Linked DNA regions of Homo sapiens: region 2 is linked to region 1. Evidence: promoter capture Hi-C in human tissues and cell types (Jung and others, 2019). All regions are on one chromosome and are shown on one strand. Each heading gives the region's core, a stretch centred on a gene start or on the middle of the fragment in contact. The rest is flanking DNA. Distances are from core to core; before and after follow the strand shown. Region 1 holds the start of HOXA1 (homeobox A1). Region 2 overlaps LOC105375199 (a long non-coding RNA gene).

What was found. Contacts are between HindIII fragments. The study calls those that stand out against the background at their distance.
Region 2: a contact is called between a fragment that was not itself captured here and the fragment with the promoter of HOXA1 in region 1, in 1 of the 25 tissues and cell types used here (dorsolateral prefrontal cortex).

The regions. Positions count from the first base shown.
Region 1 is chr7:27,094,395-27,097,425 of GRCh38, forward strand. HOXA1 (homeobox A1) reads right to left here and starts at 1,606. Exons shown (of 2, transcript NM_005522.5): 1 at 867-1,606; 2 at 1-401. The coding sequence starts at 1,518. The coding sequence ends at 46. It overlaps HOTAIRM1 (HOXA transcript antisense RNA, myeloid-specific 1), which reads left to right and starts at 1,700. Exons shown (of 2, transcript NR_038367.1): 1 at 1,700-1,994. RefSeq lists enhancers at 1-193, 194-694, 1,576-1,870, 1,996-2,568 and a silencer at 1,923-2,092. The HindIII fragment of the contact is 6,318 bases long and covers 1-3,031 here.
Region 2 is chr7:25,977,281-25,980,311 of GRCh38, forward strand. The region is part of intron 6 of LOC105375199 (a long non-coding RNA gene); the gene reads right to left. Among named protein-coding and RNA genes, the nearest start is that of MIR148A, 29 kb to the left of the region's middle. The HindIII fragment of the contact is 7,060 bases long and covers 1-3,031 here.

The sequences.
Region 1 (3,031 bases), core at 356-2,855:
CAGCCCAAGGAGATGCCTGGGCTGTTGTCTGGGGCTGGAGCCGCCTCAGTGGGAGGTAGTCAGAGTGTCTGAGGTAGAAGACCCCGGGGAAGGAACGCAGGGCGAAGAGCTGGACTTCTCTGAGGATTCCTCGGCCTTCTCGTCGTTTCCTGGCGGGGTGGCCGGAGAGATGGGCAAGAGACCCTCCTTCTCACGTTTCTTTTGCTTCATTCGGCGGTTCTGGAACCAGATCTTCACTTGGGTCTCGTTGAGCTGCAGGGATGCAGCGATCTCCACCCTGCGGGCGCGCGTCAGGTACTTGTTGAAGTGGAACTCCTTCTCCAGTTCCGTGAGCTGCTTGGTAGTGAAGTTGGTGCGCACCGCGTTGGGTTGACCCAGGTAGCCGTACTCTCCAACTTTCCCTGGGGCAAAGTGGGAAGCCATGAGACGGAAATGTAAAAATTTTTAAATCGACTTGAGATTCCCCACACGCTTCATGGCAACACTCAGGTAAAGAAAAGATCAAGAACTCAGCACAAATCGGGCTGTGGAGGGTGAGTGATGAGGTGTAAAGTGTTAACCTGATGTAAACCATTAGCATGGTCAGACCGGTGATTAATGGAGCCTCAAGATATTAACAGAACACTACCGTCACAATAACCACCCCCACATACTTCCTATTTCCCAAATGTATAAAATCCTTGAAAACACACCAATCCCTGAGACTTCTTTGCCCCAACACCTCTGGGCACCCTCTCCATGCACTACAACACTAGTCTGATACAAAAGCCTTTTAAAAAAAAGATCATTATTAATTTCCTTGGAAATTAAGCATACCAGCTCCTTCCAGAATAATCAAGGAGCATCCACCAACCAGCAGGACTGACCTGTTTTGGGAGGGTTTCTTTTGACTTTCATCCAGTCAAAAGTCTGCGCTGGAGAAGATGTCTCCGATGCGGGGGAGCGACAGGCTTCTTGGTGGCTGGCGTGGAGAGGGGACAAGGAGTTATTATACGTAGCCAGGGCCAGGCTCTGGTGCTCCTGTCCATATGAGTGGTGAATGTATTGAGGCGAGCCCACCGCGCCCCCAGCATAACCCTGGTGGTGGTGGTGATGCTGGACCATGGGAGATGAGAGATTTCCAGAGTAAACAGCGGGAGCGCACTGGGGGTACCCACCACTTACGTCTGCTTCCTGATTTAACGCGTAGGGGCTGTAAGGCGCACTGAAGTTCTGTGAGCCATAGCTTGGACCACAACTTGAGTGGGAGTAGGACACCCCCAGGTTCCCGGAAGTCTGGTAGGTAGCCGGCTGGGGGTGGCGATGGTGGTGGTGGTGGTGGTGGTGGGGCGAACCGATCTGCACCCCCCTGCCCACTAGGAAGCGGTCGTCGCCGCCGCAACTGTTGGCGCTGACCGCGCACGACTGGAAAGTTGTAATCCTATGGTCCGAGGGGTAGGCTCGGGCTGAGCAGGTCCCCGAGTCGCCACTGCTAAGTATGGGGTATTCCAGGAAGGAGTTCATTCTTGCATTGTCCATCTGTCACTGAGTGACCTGGTCCTGCGAAGCCCGGCGTGACTGTGCCAACTTTCTCACTTCCTCCATGGGGCCGGAGAAGAAAAATGATATGAATGTACAGTGCGCAAGAGGGGGGGCGGGAGGGCGGAGGACGCTGGAGGAGGGGCACGTGACGGTGTCAGCCAATGGCTGAGCCTCCTGCAAAAGTTTGCCGGCTTCCGCAGTGATGGATCACCGTTTTAGTGGCATTTAAATCCCCGGCGCTCCGCCGTCTAGGTGACGCGCAGTCGCCCCCCCAGGCAGCCTAGGCGGCGGCAGCTGCTGCGGCGACTGCAAAGGCCGATTTGGAGTGCTGGAGCGAAGAAGAGCAAAAGCTGCGTTCTGCGCGCGCCCGACTCCGCTGCCCGCCCCGCCAGGCCTCCGGGAGGTGGGGGCTGGGAGGCGTCCCCCGCTCCCGCCCCCTCCCCACCGTTCAATGAAAGATGAACTGGCGAGAGGTGAGAAGGGAAGAGGGCTCCCGGCTCTCTCGGGGCGGGAATCAGTGGGCCAGAGCTCGCCGGGTGGCCGCAAGTACGCCGGCCCAGCCCGCAGCGCGCCCAGCCGGAAGGCGGGGAATCCGGCTGACACCGCGCCCCGGGTTCCCAGGCCACCTCCTCTGTTCTGAGGCTGGGCTGGGAGACCGTGGGGCTGTGAGGAGCGCATAGAACCGTGGTGGAGGGCGAGGCTGGGCCACCGGCTCTTCAAGCTCGGAATGGAGGGGGAAGAGCGCAGAGGGCTGGCTGGGAGGAACTCGGGTGGGCGTGAAGGAGACGAGGGCAAGAAAAGAAACTTCCCTTCTTCCAGGAGGGTCTTCGAAACCCTCTCCCCACAGCCCCTCTCGTCATTAGCATGGCAATGAGGAGTTTCTGTAATTCGACTTGGAGGGGCGGATGAGCCCTGGAAACTCAGAGCTCGCCGGAAAAGGCCGGGGGCGGCCGGGCTCTTCTTCCCCACCTTCCCTCTCTCGTCGCTCTCCGCCCCTTTCTCTTTCCCACTCAGTTTTGCACCGGGAGCCCTCCGGGATGCGGAGCTACTCGACCGCCGGATTTTTAGGGGTAGGAGGCGGGGGAGAGAGATGACGCTGGCGGACGTGGCCAGCGCGGGGGCCGGGCGGTGCGCTGCAGGCCATCTGCCGGCGCCCTGAGACCCAGGAGCCTCCGCGCTCCCGCGTGGGCCTCACAGGGCCGGTCCACAGCTCCAACATAGTAGCTGAACTCCCTTCGTTGCGTTCCTCTTTTTCTGGAGGGGAATGTTAGAAGAGAGAGAGAGCTTCCTTTTATAACCTTCCTCATTCTGCTGCACGTCTAGAGTGGGTGTGGGGGCTGGCAGGTGGGAGGGGCGGTGGACAAATGGCTGATGGTGGACGGGACACTTTACCCCAACGACACCTCCTCCCCTTTCCAACTGGCTGTGTAGTTGCTTATGAGAACCTTCAAGTCCTTCCCTAGAGAGACACATGCAAATCTGAGCCTCATCCCAGGCCAGGGGTCCTGTT
Region 2 (3,031 bases), core at 348-2,847, 1.1 Mb before region 1:
ATACAGCCTAATTAATCAATGTGTCAAGCGTTTCTTCTTTCTTTTGAATCATTAGCATTTATTCAGGCCCTTAGCAGTAATGGTTTGTCAAAGCTGACATTCAGAAAAAGTATAAAAAAGAAAAAAAAATCAGCCTTGTGTTTTGATTAATTGCCATACATCTTTCTTATGTTTCATCTCCCAAATTTACAAAGATTTGATTTGGTTTATGGTAAACTTTTTTTTTTTTTTTTAGACAGAGTCTTGCTCTGTCACCCAGGCTGGAGTGCAATGGCCCTATCTCTGCTCACTGCAAGCTCTGCCTCCTGGGTTCACGCCATTCTCCTGCCTCAGCCTCCCAAGTAGCTCGAACTACAGGTGCCTGCCACCGCGCCTGGCTAATTTTTTTGTATTTTTAGTAGACACGGGGTTTCACCATGCTAACCAGGATGGTCTCGATCTCCTGACCTCATGATCTGCCCGCCTCAGCCTCCCAAAGTGCTGGGATTACAGGCATGAGCCACCATGCCCGGCCTGTTTATGGTAAACTTTTTAAAGAAAAGTAAGTACTTCTCTTAACAATATGCTGCATAAAAGATTAATTATTTTTTCTTACCACAGGATGCAATTTTAGAATCCGAGAAACTATTCTACCCTTTAAATCTTCAAGAATCCAGAAAGGGGAAAAAAAGAATAGGGAGAGGAGGTGGGAGAAGAGAGAAGCCAGTGTCAGATGGGCAGGCTCGGACCACGGACTTGGACTTAAAGAACATGGCAGCTGACAACTGCAAACTATTTTCTATTTTCCTTCTCCTTGAAATGATAAGTGGGCAGGGAAAGAAAAAGGGAGGATGATACAATTTTGATTGGGTAATAAAGGCAATAGTGAGATTAATTTTTAGGCATTACCAAATGCCTAGTAATAAAACCTGTGTCTCTCAGCACCAAGAAGCAGGTTTTTCTTTTTTTTTTGCTGGTGTATAAATACCATAAGAATTTTAATTTCTTCTTTTAAAAAATATATTATGTAGCTGAGGCTTAATTAGCAGATGTATAAATGATCATGGAAAACTTGCAGCACCTGAAATGACATTTTACTAATTTGAAAATATATTGTCTCCAGTCATTATTTACAGAAAAACAAAAACTTTGTTGCTTTTGTCTTGCAAAACTTTCAGGTCTGTAAGCATATCCTGAATTAATTCATTATAACCATATATGTAAGAGACTAACAAGCCCATTACTCAAATTTTGTGAATCAGAAAATGTTACCCAGAGAAACGGTATGTATGTAATAAAAAATACTAGAATTTGACATACAATTTTAATGGTTGGCTCTTTCTCATTGAGATTTCACACCAAAAATGGATGACAAACTAGGATCTGAGTCAAAGCACAGATGTCCGGGGATGTCAGCCAGCAGGGAGGTGGCCAACTTTATGACACGGATCTTCTGAGGATCAATGAATCTTAGGTCACTAGTATGATCACTATCATACACTTCACAAATACAAAAATACTCTCAAAAAATTCTGTGGTTGCAAACATTTTTGTGGAAATTATAACTTTCGGTTCTTGCTTATTGCCATCGTTTTTATAAAATAAAATATTATTCTATATTCGCAGACATTTAAACTACTGAGCGAGACTGCTGACAGTACTCTCAAATATTGCCAAACTTGAGTAGACACAAGCAAAACAAGCCAGGAGAGTCGAAGTTGGATAAAGTAAAACTAAAGATGCTTCAATATAGAGAATCACTGGAATCTCTCCAATGCCAGATGAAAAATACCTAAGTATGAATGAGCAGCTTTTGTCTTGTAAGTTAGTTTTATACCTCTTTCTGTCATTTGAATGACTTAATCATTCATAAAGAATAGATCAATCAGCAGGAAAGTTTGAAGAAAAGAGAATCCCAGAGACAAATGCTAGGTGTGTTCATCCTAACCCTTTGAGAAACAGCTACCCAAGGGCAGCCAGCCAACCTTCATATTTCAGTATGTGGGTTTTGCCATCAAGTAATCTGCGGGGGTTGGAGATTTGAACCTCCCATCTTCAAACTGCTACCTATGGTGGGGCTTTTATTGGCCCCTCTATACCTCAATATCATCATCTGTAAAATAGGAATAATAATAGTTCCCATCACATAGGCTAGTTGTGGGGATGAAATGAGATACCATAACCTAAGTGTATTAGAATGGTGCTTGGCATGTGGTCAGCACTTAATAATATCAGCTATTATTATTACAATTCCTGTATAGTTATTTCAACATCAAATGTTGCTTTTGAAAAAATACAATCTAAGTATTGCATTTGAATGCTTCACACAGTTGAATATTAAGTTAAAATCATTAGAGTTTAATTTTTTAAATGATGCTCTCCTGTGGGGCCACTGAGTCTCTTGAGCATACAACACCACCACCACCACCCAACCCTTTCCCTGGTGGATTTCATGGAATCTGAAAGACAGAAATAGAACACAGCTGCTATATGTAAGTTGGGGAGGCCAAGGAAGCAACATACCTACTGTGGCAGACACACCCTAAGGTGACCTCCAATGAGTCACACCATGTATAAGCCCCTCCTCTTCAGGACGGGAAGAACCTGTGACTATATGTCACTGCCATCATTGGAAAGAGAGAGAGAGTAAGCAAGAAAGAGAGCAAGAGAAAGAGCGTATGAGCAACTCCATCTGGAGTCAGAGAGAGACAGACTCTCTCCTGAGCCTTGAAGAAGCAAACTTGCACATTGTGAGCCACCCATGGAGAGGGCCTGGAGGCAGGGACCTGTGGGCTCCTCCCGCTGAGAGCCAGGACGAAGCCAGGACCGTCCATCAAGCAGTACCGAGAAGCTGAATTGTTCCAACAACTTGCATGAGCTTAGAAGCCGATTCTTCCCTAGACCCTCCAGATGAGAACACATTCAAGGCCACACTTTGATTGTGGCCTTGTGAGACTGAGTAGGGGACCCTGTTAAGCCATGCCTGGACTCCTGGCCCACAGAAACTATGAGATAATCAAATTGCCTCTTAAGTTGCTAACTATGTGTGACA